Linked DNA regions of Homo sapiens: all the other regions are linked to region 1. The links are contacts of gene promoters, found by promoter capture Hi-C in blood cells and fetal thymus (Javierre and others, 2016). All regions are on one chromosome and are shown on one strand. The core of a region is centred on a gene start or on the middle of the fragment in contact, and the rest is flanking DNA. Distances in the headings are between cores, read along the strand shown.

The links. The method cuts DNA at HindIII sites, captures the fragments that hold promoters and counts their contacts. A CHiCAGO score of 5 or more calls a contact.
Region 2: the fragment with the promoter of SIX4 here is called in contact with the fragment with the promoter of SNAPC1 in region 1 in 1 of 17 cell types (naive CD8 T cells); the score reaches 6.6 in naive CD8 T cells.
Region 3: a fragment that was not itself captured here is called in contact with the fragment with the promoter of SNAPC1 in region 1 in 1 of 17 cell types (neutrophils); the score reaches 6.6 in neutrophils.

Annotation. Positions count from the first base shown.
Region 1 is chr14:61,760,648-61,765,090 of GRCh38, reverse strand. SNAPC1 (small nuclear RNA activating complex polypeptide 1) reads right to left here and starts at 2,671. Exons shown (of 10, transcript NM_003082.4): 1 at 2,503-2,671. The coding sequence starts at 2,630. RefSeq lists enhancers at 1,701-2,444, 2,445-3,188, 3,256-3,345, 3,189-3,932, 3,933-4,443. The HindIII fragment of the contact is 7,963 bases long and covers 1-4,443 here.
Region 2 is chr14:60,721,644-60,726,295 of GRCh38, reverse strand. SIX4 (SIX homeobox 4) reads left to right here and starts at 1,945. Exons shown (of 3, transcript NM_017420.5): 1 at 1,945-3,084. The coding sequence starts at 2,222. RefSeq lists silencers at 2,463-2,532, 3,811-3,880. The HindIII fragment of the contact is 4,809 bases long and covers 1,239-4,652 here.
Region 3 is chr14:63,538,265-63,542,626 of GRCh38, reverse strand. PPP2R5E (protein phosphatase 2 regulatory subunit B'epsilon) reads left to right here. Exons shown (of 14, transcript NM_006246.5): 2 at 2,935-3,098. The coding sequence starts at 2,942. Among named protein-coding and RNA genes, the nearest start is that of PPP2R5E, 2.9 kb to the left of the region's middle. The HindIII fragment of the contact is 3,873 bases long and covers 1,134-4,362 here.

The DNA of each region.
Region 1 (4,443 bases), core at 1,422-3,921:
TTAGTAGATAAAAAATGCCAGATTTTAAATAAAACATTAGCTAAAATAAATGTCTCAAAGTGTTGATGCGAGTGACTAATACGCTATACAAATATAAATATGTAGAACTTTTACTTTAAAACCAGCAACAAACAATAAAGACATTTGCCCTGCAGCCATAAACACGGGCTCTATTATATCTGATTACAATGCAGGGGTGGAAGGGAAGGGGGTAGTAGGAGGACATTTTGGGTCTTCAAATAATAAATATAGGAAAAGAATACAAAATGCCTACTCTAGTTACGGTAACCAAAGTAATTTCTCAAGAAAATCCACCACTCTAGTGATTCCTGCTTCTTTTATCATTTTAGGTTCTCCCTACTAGAAAATGTAAATGTTACATTTTTAGCTTTTTCCTTAAATGCATTTTTCCCCCCAAGAAGTGGTACAGTGGAATATTAACGGATTTTAGAAACAGGCAGATACATAGTTTCCAACATCTGCTCTACAATCCACTATCTTTGTAATGGTGGAGAAATTACTTAACCTCTTTAAGCCTTAATTTCCTCATCTATAAAACAAGGATAATTATACCTGCTTTTTATAACTGTCTTATGCAATAAATAAAGCTATAAATAAATGGCATGTAGTAGCCATTTAAAAAAAAAAGTCTCTCTCCTTTTATTAACTGTACAACAAACAGCTCTTCATCCTCCATTCCTTGCAATTTAAAAAACTACAAAGGTAATTTGCTTACACTGACAGAGAGAAAATGAGTTTTTACATTTTGTTCAGAAAAAGTTTTAATCATAAGGTTTAACTCATTCAGAAAATCAGTTATTTCGCCTTTTTAATATTATATGTACTATGGTAATAAAAATAGATTCATCCAGTCACTGTCCTCACAGAGGTCAGTCTAGTCAAAGGAAAATTTTAAAACGGTAGTAATAATGAACATTTGACCAGCCTGGCCAACATGGTGAAATCCCGTCTCTACTAAAAATACAAAAATTAGCCAGGCTTGGTGGCACAAGCCGTAGTCCCAGCTACTCGGGAGGCTGAGGCAGGAGAATCTCTTGAACCCGGGAGGTGGAGGTTGCAGTGATAGGAGATCGCACCATTACACTCCAGCCTGGGTGACAGAGCAAGACTATGTCTCAAGAAAAAAAAATAATAATAATGAACATTTATTGAGCACTTAGAATGTATTTCTGATATATCAGCTCATTTAATCTTCACAACTACTATGAGGTTTATCATTGCCTCTATTTTACAGATATGGAAACTCAAGTAACTTGCCCCAAGTCATAGCGGACCCTGCAATCAAATGCAGCCAATTGGGTTCCATAACCTATGCCCTTAACAATCCCACACTGCCTTTTCAACTATACCATTACAACAAAATGTGGAAAGCGGTGACATAAAATAAAAACAGGGTGCTATGCGGGGAAAAAACATGAACAGCGTACTCAGTCTAGAAGAGCAAAAAAGACTTCCCCCGAGGATGTCATTTGAGCTTAACCCTGAGTGAAGAATAAGGTGGACAAAACAAGAGAGTTGCGGTGGAAACTCCAGGATTAGGAAAAGCCTGTAGAGGGCCCAAAGAAAAAAAAAAAAAAAAAAAAGCAGCTGCTGGAGCAAGAAAGTGAGTGCATGGAGGGGACTGGCAGGCGAAGCTGGAGAGATAGGCAAAGGCCAGTGAGGAATGGTCTTGGCAAGTCAGAGAATTCAAGCGTTATCCCAAAGGCAATGGGCACCACTACAGAGTAATAAGTCGGGGAGTGACATAATCAAATTTGCACTTTTGAAAAACAACTTTTGGGCCGGGCGCGGTGGCTCACTCCTGTAATCCTAGCGCTTTGGGAGGCCGAGGCGGGCGGGTCACGAGATCAGGAGTTCGAGGCCAGTCTGGCCAACATAGTAAAACCCCGTCTCTACTAAAAATACAAAAAATTAACCGGGCGTGGTGCCGGGCACCTGTAATCCCAGCTACTCCGGAGGTTGAGGCAAGAGAATCACTTGAACCTGAGAGGCGAAGGGTTGCACTGAGCCGCGAACGCGCCATTGCACTCCAGCCTGGGCGACAAAAGGAGACTCCGTCTCAAAAAAAAAAAAAAAAAAAAAAAAAAAGACAACTTTGGTTGTTGGAGGAAAAATTAATTCAATCTTGAAGGGTTTTGTCTTTGCTTGTGTGTTTTTAAACATCAGGTCCTAGAACAAGACTGGGGAAGGGCAAATGATAGTGGCCTGGCTCAGGGTGGAGATGGGAGAGAGGAGTTTAGAAGGGAGGCCAGGCAGAGACGCATATTTGGGAGGAGGCCGCAACAACCATCAGGGCACAATGAAATAGAGCAGGGAAAGCGCGTTGCCTGAGCACAGGGGAAGGTCCAGGAGTCATGGAGGCAACCTTCGGTGACTGCCGCTCTTCTCAGCCCTTCACAAGTGCAATATCGCCGGGAAGGAGGCAACTTTCTACACCACCTGCGGGCAGGGAGAGGCGGGTGGTGGACAAGAAACACCCACCAGAAGATAGTCCCGAACTTCATGTTTCTCCAGAGCTCCGTGAAGTCCTCGAAGCGTACACTGTCCGTCTCCTGGAAGCGGCTGAGCAGCGCCTCGCAGTCGGTCTGCAGGCCGGGAGGAGTCCCCATGGCACCCGAAGCCCGCACGCCTCCGAAGCCCGCACGCCTCTAACGGACTAGCCAGCGGTGGTCGCCCAGGAAACCAAGCCCGAACGGCCCGCCCCCTACGGCGTGCGCACACGCGCTCCGTGATGCATTATCCGGCACCTTTAGCTCCGCCTTTATCCGGGCTCTTGCCACCGGTCGTGTGCTTACTGCGCGTGCGTGAAAGCGTTCTGATGTTTTACTGGCTGAGATTGCTTTCACCCAGAGTGCTGAGATCCACCCTTCTTTGGAAGAGGTTTACGTCTAAAGTGTTGTGTTTGCTCACGAGCGGTTTTAGGTCTTCATTTTCCGCTAGGTTATGTAACTTGACTTTACCCTTACTAGCACTCTCCTTTAAACTGACCCTAGTGTGACATAAGTGAACTTTTGAGCTAGGAAAGAACAGTCCCAACCCCAACCCCACTCCCACTTGGGAAGAGAAGCTAAAGAAGGCTTGCTAGGAAACAAACTGCACTCATTCTCCTTCTGGTCATCGAGAACCCTAATACTCTGTACCCACATAATACGATGCTTAATGTGCGGCCCTCTCTTTGTAGCCCTGGCATTCTGCAACCACTCTTGAAAAGAAGAGCTGCATTTCATACCCTCTTGTAAACAGCCCTCCTCCTGCCCTGCCACGCATTCACCCCTGTGCTACATAGCACTTAGCAGAAAATACCTACTTGTTATATTCTTGTTATATTATTATTTGGATGAATTGCCTTTTTGTGTACACGCTGCCACCTAGCTTCCTTCCTCCAGGAGCTAGCTATGGAGTAACATTTTGAACTTTAGATCATTTCTCTGATTGAAAGGTAAGCTATCATTCTTTAGAAGAGGTATCCTGATATAATAGAAAAACATTGGGCTTTCTGTGTGTAAATGGAGTGTCAACTCACTTTACTTTTCTGATCCTTGACCTGTTTTTGTTTGTTTGTTTGTTTGTTTGGATTTGTTTGTTTTTTGTTTTGAGACGGAGTTTCGCTCTTGTTGCCCAGGCCGGAGTTCAGTGGCGCGGTCTCGGTTCACTGCAACTTCCGCCTCCCGAGTTCAAGCGATTCTCCTGCCTCAGCCTCCCGAGTAGCTGGGATTACAGGCATGCACCACTCCAACCGGATTTTGTTTTGTTTTGTTTTGTTTGTATTTTTAGTAGAGACAGGGTTTCACCATGTTGGCCAGGCTGGTCTCGAACTGCTAACCTCAGGTGATCCGCTCCCCTCGGCCTCCCAAAGTGTTGGGATTACAGACGTGAGCCACTGCACCCTGCCCTCTTGACCTGTTTTTTAAATGTTATGTAATATTTTATGTCACAGAAAAATTTATGCGATGTGTGAGATAAAAAGCATAGCAGTTAAACACCTGTACACCTTTCACCTGTGTAGGAACCAGAACATTACCAACGCCTTCACATCAATCTGCGATTTCCTCCTCTGACCTATTCCTTTGACTGTACCCTACTTTAATCACAGCTACTGGTTGGGCACGGTGGCTCACGCCTGAAATCCCAACACTTTGGGAGACAAAAGCAAGAGGATTGCTTAAGCACAAGAGTTGGAGACCAGCCTGGGAAACATGGTGAAAATTAGCCGGGCATGGTGGTGCACACCTGTAGTCCCAGCTACTCGGGAGGCTGAGGTGGGAGGATCATTTGAGCCTGGGAGATGGTGGTTACAGGAGACAGAGGTTGCAGTGGTGAGCCGAGATCGTGCCACTGCACTCCATCCTGGGCTACGGAGTGAGACCGAATCTCAAAAAATAAATAAATAACTACCTTGAATTTTGTTTCTCTTTCTCATGT
Region 2 (4,652 bases), core at 696-3,195, 1.0 Mb after region 1:
GAAACACATGGTCTTGGCCGGGCGCGGTGGCTCACGCCTGTAATCCCAGCACTTTGGGAGATCGAGGCGGGCGGATCACGAGGTCAGGAGATCGAGACCATCCTGGCTAACACGATGAAACCCCATCTCTACTAAAAATATAAAAAATTAGTCGGGCATGGTGGCACGCGCCTGTAGTGCCAGCTACTCAGGAGACTGAGGCAGGAGAATCGCTTGAACCCGGGAGGCAGAGGTTGCAGTGAGCCAAGATCACGCCACTGCACTCCAGCCCGGGCAACAGAGTGAGACTCCATCTCAAAAAATAAATAAATAAATAAATAAATAAATAAGCAAATAAATAATATGGCCTTTTCTGTTGTTATAAATTTTAAATCTACCAGCGATGTCAACACATTAGGGTAATGCAAAAACAAGTTAAATCCTACATCAAATGACATCTTGATTGACCAGCAATAAAATAAAGCCTGTCTACAAAAAAAAAGAAAATCTCACCAAGTTTATCATGACGGCAGGTGACCTAGACAGCTGCTTTGTAATATGCTGAAGTAGGCAGCTATGAGTAGCTGGGAAGCATACACAATACAAGGCCACCCTGAAGCAAAGGTTAGGATGATGTCATTAAAATGTTGAATTTTGAGAGGCCGAGGCGGACGGATCACGAGGTCAGGAGATCGAGACCATCCTGGCTAACGTGGTGAAACCCCGTCTCTACTAAAAAATACAAAAAAAAAAAAAAAAAAAAAATTAGCTGGGCGTGGTGGCGGGCGCCTGTAGTCCCAGCTACTCGGGAGGCTGAGGCAGGAGAATGGCGTGAACCCAGGAGGCGGAGCTTGCAGTGAGCCGAGATCACACCACTGCACTCCAGCCTGGGCGACAGAGCGAGACTCCATCTCGGGGGGAAAAAAAGTTGAATTTTGAGAAAGAGCAGCAGCAGGCAAACCCAACTGACCTACAGTAATCAAAGAAGCAGAAATGGATCATCCCTTTTGGAATTAAGATCTTGTGCAAATTACAAAGGAAAGAGACACAACTGCAAACAACAAAAGACTCTACCCCCACTTCAGCATCAAACCAGAGGGCAATCTGTCTATGCTGTGGAAAAGGGCTTCTGATCCTGCACTGATCTGGATGACACCCGCACATTCAGTGTTTCTAGCCTATCATCGTTAAAAAAGAAATACTCATATACTTACATTAAAAAGTTCATGTAGAAAACTTAAATTTCCATATTTAAAGCTTAGATCTCTTCCACACGACTCATCCAGGATAAACTTATGGTTTAATATTCTACATGTTTAATTATACCATGTTCAACTCAGTTGGGTTGCCAGCCCTCCACGTGGCTTAAGGTTAAGTACATTTTTTGAAGGCTTCTTGTTTTTGTCTTCTCAGTGTGCTATTTATGCTGCTAATTATAAGGTTTTCAAGCATTTTTCCCTCTTTGGAATTTTAATTTACTGTAAATGCTTGCCCCTTAGAACATTTCCTAGTGTCATTTTATTTTTGACCGTTTTGAATACAAAATCCTTGATAAAGACATCCAAAAAGAGGGAGAATGGGGAACAGGGACATACTGGGGGGCTTCTGAATTGTCCTCTGAAGTTTTGTCATCTAGATGCTGAGGGTGGTCTCTTTGTTAAAAATTTAACCATCCAGACCTTAAGGCCACACAATTAATATTCCCTCTGGAATTGTAGGGCCTCTGTTTGAAAGAGTTGTCCAGTTTTCAGGCCACATTAGGTAATTTCCCGCCCAGGAGCGTGGCTTGGAAAGAATGTCGGTGTTTTCCTTCAGGTATAGGTGCCTGGGGGTCAGGAGGGGAGGGAAAGGCGAGGGGTGGAGTGGGAGGCGGGTGATCGACAGGGATAGAAACTGTGTCTCCTCCTCCCTCTGAATGCGAAATAGCCAATGAGGTGGCTAGGCCGGGCCGGCCCGGCCGCCACTGCCATATAGTATGCAGCAACCGGAGGAGTCACGTTGGGGGAACGGCAGAAAGCAGCTATCCGTTTACACTACTTTGCTCTAACAGCTATCTTAATGGTGACTGCGTGGCCGGGGGGAAACCTGATCGGCCAGATACAGCCGAAACCAGGAGGGAGGGAGTGGGCTTTCCGGAGGGGGAGAGGAGGGAGGGAGACGAAGGAGGAGGAGTAAGAGAGGAGGAAAGAAAGAGGAAAAGAGTGCGAGGGAGTGAGGGAGGGAGGAAAATAAACAACAAAAAATGTCCTCTTCCTCCCCCACCGGGCAGATCGCAAGTGCGGCGGACATCAAGCAAGAGAATGGGATGGAAAGCGCCTCGGAAGGGCAGGAGGCGCACCGAGAAGTGGCGGGGGGCGCGGCGGTAGGGCTGAGCCCCCCGGCTCCAGCCCCTTTTCCCCTGGAGCCGGGGGACGCCGCGACCGCTGCCGCCAGGGTGAGCGGAGAGGAAGGGGCAGTGGCGGCGGCGGCGGCCGGAGCGGCGGCGGATCAGGTACAACTCCACTCGGAACTTCTGGGCAGGCACCACCACGCCGCCGCCGCCGCCGCGCAGACCCCGCTGGCCTTCTCGCCCGACCACGTCGCCTGCGTGTGCGAGGCACTGCAGCAGGGGGGCAACCTGGACCGCCTGGCCCGGTTCCTGTGGTCCCTGCCCCAGAGCGACCTGCTACGTGGCAACGAGAGCCTGCTGAAGGCGCGGGCGCTCGTGGCCTTCCACCAGGGCATCTACCCCGAGCTCTACAGCATCCTCGAGAGCCACAGCTTCGAGTCGGCCAACCACCCGCTGCTGCAGCAGCTCTGGTACAAGGCGCGCTACACCGAGGCCGAGCGAGCCCGCGGCCGGCCGCTGGGAGCCGTAGACAAGTACCGGCTGCGCAGGAAATTCCCCCTGCCCCGCACCATCTGGGACGGCGAGGAGACGGTGTATTGTTTCAAGGAGAAGTCGCGCAACGCGCTCAAGGAGCTCTACAAGCAGAATCGCTACCCTTCGCCCGCCGAGAAGCGGCACCTGGCCAAGATCACCGGCCTCTCCCTCACCCAGGTCAGCAACTGGTTCAAGAACCGCCGGCAGCGCGACAGGAACCCCTCCGAGACCCAGTCCAAAAGGTGAGCGCCAACTTTCCTCCTCCTCCCCCTTCCTCTCCCCCACCCCCTTCCCGGCTTTCTTTTCCTCCAAGTGCTCGCAAACATGGCGCTTACCTTCCCCACCAGCCTGGTCCGGCTGCCCACCTCTCCCCGCCCCCTACCTCGCTCCCCGGCCGGCAGAGGTAGGGGGCGGCGGAGGCGGGGGGCGGGGGAACCTCCCTCCTTACCCTCCCCCTCTCCCCCCAGAAGTTTCTGGTCGCCCGCCTAGGTCTCAGTCCCCGCCCCCACCTCGGCTGGTCACTGCTGCCCAGCTTCCCACCCCCATCCCGCTGGCTTTGAAGTTGCCACCCTCTCCCCGTTTCTGGAGGGGCTAACGAAGCAAATGTGGACACCGGCACCGTAGCTCTCCCTGCCGCCCGAGGCCCGCAGAGACTGCCGGCGCCGGCCGGGGTCTGCACCTCCGCGAGGTCACACCGGGCCTGGCGCGCGCGCACGCTCCCGGATCCCCAGGGTTCAGCCGCCCCCCGGGCCTGCGCTGGAGGTCGCGGTGGCTGCTCTGGTGAAGGGAAGAGAGTGTTGTGGGACTGGCGGCGCAGAAGGGGTCTCGGAACGTCGAGGTTTCATATGACAGAGTTAATCATTCACCCTGCCCCTATGGTTCCCTTAGCGGCCGCGGCAACGTGGGGTGCTGGTGCAGCTCGGCTCTGTCATGTTTTGAAACCTGATTCTGAACTCCTTAGGATCGGGTTTCAGCGCAGCCGGGGTAGCAGGGCTGAAGGGCTGCTTCCTCCCTCGGCCCCCGAACGCTGCTTGGCTCCCTCCTGGTACGGTAGTTATGGGTGGGGGGCAGGCCGGCTTACGGCGGGCGGCAGCAAAGGAGTGGGGGCGCTCCCACCCCACTGGGTTTGAGCTTTTTGCCTGGCAGACTGCTTTCCCCCTCTGGTAAAAAAAATACCGGATTTTCCACCTCTTTTGTGCGTCCTCCCGAGTCAGACACTTGGTGTGTGCGTCTGTGTGTTTTGTTGGACGAAACAAAGTAAGGAGAAGGTCGCCTAAAGACCTGGTGTCTCCAGCCCCGCGGGGATAGGAGAGAAAGAATCCAAAAGCAGCTCGAAGGTTCTTCTCGGGGAAGCAAACTGGGAGCCGGGGATCCAGCCCGCCTGCGCCAGGTGAAGGTGATCACCAGCGCATTCCAGAGCCGGTCTCAGCCCGCCCTTGCCGCTTCTGGGCCCCTGTGGGGGTCCGACGGCTCGGGCTCCGGCGTTCCTCGCCCAAGGCTGGGAGGGAGGCTTGGTGCCCTATCCGGCCCTCGCGGTAACCAAAACAAAAGGTGCACCGGGATGTGCGTGCGCCTTCCGCAGATATGCGGAGAGGTCCAGAGAAGGCGCTTTGGTTACGCCGAGCCACCTGCCCTGCGCCCACTAGAGGCCGCGGATCCCGCGCTCGGAAACCAACGGAATCCGCAGGGCCGGGGCAGAGGGTGGCAAGGGGGCACCGCGAGCAGGCCAGCTGCTCCGCCGCCTCCGCTCGCGAGCCGGGCACGCTCCCTGGGACTCCCCCACGCTCCACTGCTGGCTTCTTCGTCCCCC
Region 3 (4,362 bases), core at 1,821-4,320, 1.8 Mb before region 1:
ACTTGTCTGATTTACCTACAAATGCTTCTGATGATACCTCTCATTCACTCTGCCCCCTCCCCCCTTTTTCTCCACCTTCTGGGATTGGAGGCGTTTTCTTGCCCCCCTTTATCCACTGGCGGGGGCGGGGAATAAAGAGGGGTTTGGTGTGAGGAGGATTCTCTAGCAGCTTATCGTCTCCAGGGCTTGGGGTGTGGGTTAGGAGCAAAGGGAGTATGTAAGCATCCCCACAGACAAACCCCTTCCCTGTCTTTCCCTACTTCCCCTTACCCCCTTTGGATTATCCTGAGCCATGGAAATGCCCCATGCCTGCTGATTAGAGGATGATAAAGCTTCGGGAGCCCTGGCCCAGGGCGAAACCTGTTTCCCTGGGCTTTGCACGGACCCGCTGTTACCTTACGTTCAGTTTTGCAGTGCTTCAGGGTTGCGATCCTTGACGTTTATTCTGGGCCTCGGGCATAAGGGGTAAATGATTTTTTTAAAAGCTACCTATATATCGTCTGTAGAGATGAGAGATAAGGAATAAAGAAGAGACGAAAAGAGTGATGGAGGAAGAGGATTTACTGAAATGTTGTAGTGTTAGAGTTAGAGTGAAGTCTAAATAATTCACATACCCGAATGGAAAATCGGCCCCTAAATTTACAACGTACAAATAAGATGTGGAGCTTTTGGCTGATGCAGTCATTTTGATATTTTAAAGTGATCTTAACATCTATAGTCATTCATAGTTTGTGATTCTATTTTGAATCCATCACATTATATTAAGGCTAAATTAGGTAGATTTTTAAAAACTTTTTTTTTTTTAAAGAAAACCAAAGAAGACTTCCAAATTCCAAACGTCAACATCATATGTGTGCATGTGTTTTAAAATGTTTTTGTTATTTTTACATTGTCAAAATCCACGTAATCCAGGTAACTTTTTATTCTCACGTGTTCAGGAAGAAATTCCCTTACTGTTTTATTTAGAAGTTAAAAACCACTTGTCTTGTCTATTGGAATGACAGGTGAGTAATTGCATTTCAGCATTTCCCCCATATGCATTCTTTCTATCCGAGTCTGCCATTAGTCTTGCATGAAGCCTCAGTGCCATGGAAATGATGGCATCTGTTTAATTTGGTGAATGAAATTAAGCTTAACGCTTGTTACTTTCAGGAAATAGCCTTCATTTTAATAACTCGAGAGGGTTAAACAATTCAAAAGTGCTATTCAGTTCCGTAAGTTTGATGGAATGAAAATTGGTATTTGATGATGAACTTCAAGGTCTAAACCTCAAGGGAACTCAACTTGGTTGTTTCAGTAGGCTGTGAATTTATGTTTTCAGTTCAACTTTGGTGCTTGATTTTCTCATAGTTTTTATTAAGCGTTAATAACGTAAGGTGGCTTCATTCAAAAAGAAGACTTATTTGAAATATTTTAATTATGCCTTTTATGTGTTTTGTTTAAAGTAATCTAGCCTGTCCTCATTTGCAGTGTGGTATAGTTTATCATAGCTAACATAGCACATCCCATTAAAAGTTATGCCTAGATAGTTTCAGTAGTAGTAAATTTCACCTTGCTGTGATACATTGGTATAGATTCTTGAAGTACACTAAGGGTTTTTCAACTCCAGAACCCATTCATAATATTAAGTATCTTGGGAAAATGTATCAATGGAAGTTTTCCAGTTACAGAATAGCTCCAAAAATTACTTGAAGATGTGAAGAGCTTTGCAGTTAGAAAATGGGCAGGCAGCATAGATTTCTTTAAGCCTAGATGAGTATCTTTAATGCTTATAATGGAGTGGCACAATACATTAGAGTTCTCATATTGTTTCCGTGATACTTAAATTATTTTCACTAAATTTTCATGTTTTCCTGTTAACATATGACTTTTCTTTTCTTTGTTTGTTTCTTTTTTTTTTTTTTGAGAAGGAGTTTTCCTCTTGCTGCCCAGGCTGGAGTGCAATGGCATGATCTTGGCTCACCACAACTCCGCCTCCCGGGTTCAAGTGATTCTCCTGCCTCAGCCTCCCGAGTAGCTGGGATTACAGGCATGCGCCACCATGCCTGGCTAATTTTTGTATTTTTTTTTTTTTATTAGAGATGGGGTTTCTCCATGTTGGTCAGGCTGGTCTCGAACTCCCAACCTGAAGTTATCTGCCCGCCTTGGGATTACGGGTGTGTGCCACTGTGCCTGGCTTTTTTTTTTTTTTTTTTTGAGATGGACTCTTGCTCTGTTGCCCAGGCTGGAGTGCAGTGGTGCCATCTTGGCTCACCGCAACCTCCGCCTCCCAGGTTCAAGCGGTTCTCCCTTCTCAGCCTCTTGAGTAGCTGAGATTACAGGTGCATGCCACTGCGCCTGGCTAATTTTTGTATTTTTAGTAGACACAGGGTTTCACCATGTTGGCCAGGCTAGTCTCGAACTCCTGACCTCAAGTGATCCACCCACCTCGGCCTCCCAAAGTGCTGGGATTACAGGTGTGAGCCACCGGGCCCAGCCCTTTTTTTTTTTTTTTTTAAAGGACGGAATCTCACTCTGTCACTCAGGCTGGATGGAGTGCAATGGCGGGATCCTGGCCCACTGCAACCTCCACCTCCCAGGTTCAAGCGATTCTTTCACCTCAGCCTCCCGGGTAGCTGAGATTACAAGCACCTGCCATCATGCCCGGCTAATTTTTGTAATTTTGTAGAGACTGAATTTCACCATGTTGTCCAGGTTGGTCTTGAACTCCTGACCTCAAGTGATCCACCCATCTCAGCCTCCCAAAGTGCTGGGATTACAGGCGTGAGCCATTGCACCTGGCCAAGATAAGACTTTTCTTAACTGATTTTATTTTCTTTAGCACATATTCCCATTTTCATGAATATTGTATATGGGAATTTTAGAATTTGTATAACTCACATGTATGCTTCCACCTTGGGAATGTATGGGTTTATGATACTTCTTTCTCTTCAGTAGGGATATGTCCTCAGCACCAACTACTCCTCCATCAGTGGATAAAGTAGACGGATTTTCTCGGAAGTCCGTCAGAAAAGCCAGACAGAAGAGGTCGCAAAGTTCCTCACAGTTTAGGTCTCAAGGCAAGCCTATTGAGTTAACACCTCTGCCGCTGCTAAAAGGTAAGGCTCATGACCAGGTGATGCATTCTTTTTCAATTGATCTTTCTACATCTATATATAATTTCCTTTTTGTAGAGTTTTATATGTGTTGCAAATTGAAGGGATGGGATACTTCACATACATTGAAGTTACTAATGTGTGACCAAATATACCCACTCTCCTTTTTAAAGGCTCAATTTAGTCTGTCTTTGGGCAAGTTAAAAGAAACATTATCAGGAGAATATCTCACATTGATGAGTAGGTAAACTAAGTACTAGAGAAACTTTAAGATGTCTGGGTTTGTGTTTTTCATTTTTTCTTCTGTTGACGTTTAGGGATACATTATATACAATGACAACTACAGATTATGGTCTTAGGAAGTAGACCCTAGTAGAGGAGATGGTACCATTCATTAATTTACATATAGAAAATGGTATTTGGAAGAATTCGTTTTTAAAAATCAAGAAAAAAATGGTCCATTTATAGTTGTTTACATGCACTCTTGTTTTCACATAGTACAAGTAGAAAAGATATACCTTTCTATGTACAAGTATGATGATCATACTTGTTTAGTATGATCTTTTCTTTGAAATTTGTTAATTTTTTAATTTTAATTTTTATCTTTTGAGATAGAGTCTCCCTCTGTTGCTCAGGCTGGTTCACAGCAACCTCCACCTCCTGGGTTCAAGTGATTTTCCTGCCTCAGCTTCCCGAGTAGCTGGGAGCACAGGTGCCCGCCACCATGCCCAGCTAATTTTTGTATTTTTAATAGAGACAGGGTTTCACCATGTTGGTCAGGCTGGTCTTGAACTCCTGACCCCAAGTGATCTGCCCACCTTGACCTCCCAAAGTGCTGGGATTACAGGTGTGAGCCACCGTGCCTGGCCTGAAATTTGTTAAAAACAAGTTTTTTGGTTTTTTAAATTTTCTTTTGAGACAATCTCATGCTGTCACTCTGGCTAGAGTTCAGTGGGGACAGAGTGAAAGTGCAGGTTGAGGCCGGGCGTGGTGGCTCACGCCTGTAATCCCAGCACTTTGGGAGCCCGAGGCAGGCAGATCACGAGGTCAGGAGTTTGAGACCAGCCTGGCCAACATGGTGAAACCCTGTCTCTTCTAAAAATACAAAAATTAGGCGCGGTGGTGGCACCTGTAATCCCAGCTACTCGGGAAGCCGAGGCAGGAGAATTGCTTGAACCGGGAGGCAGAGGTTGAAGTGAGCCCAGATCGTGCCATTGCATTCTAGCCTGGGTGACAGAGCAAGACTCTGTCTCGGGGGAAAAAAAAA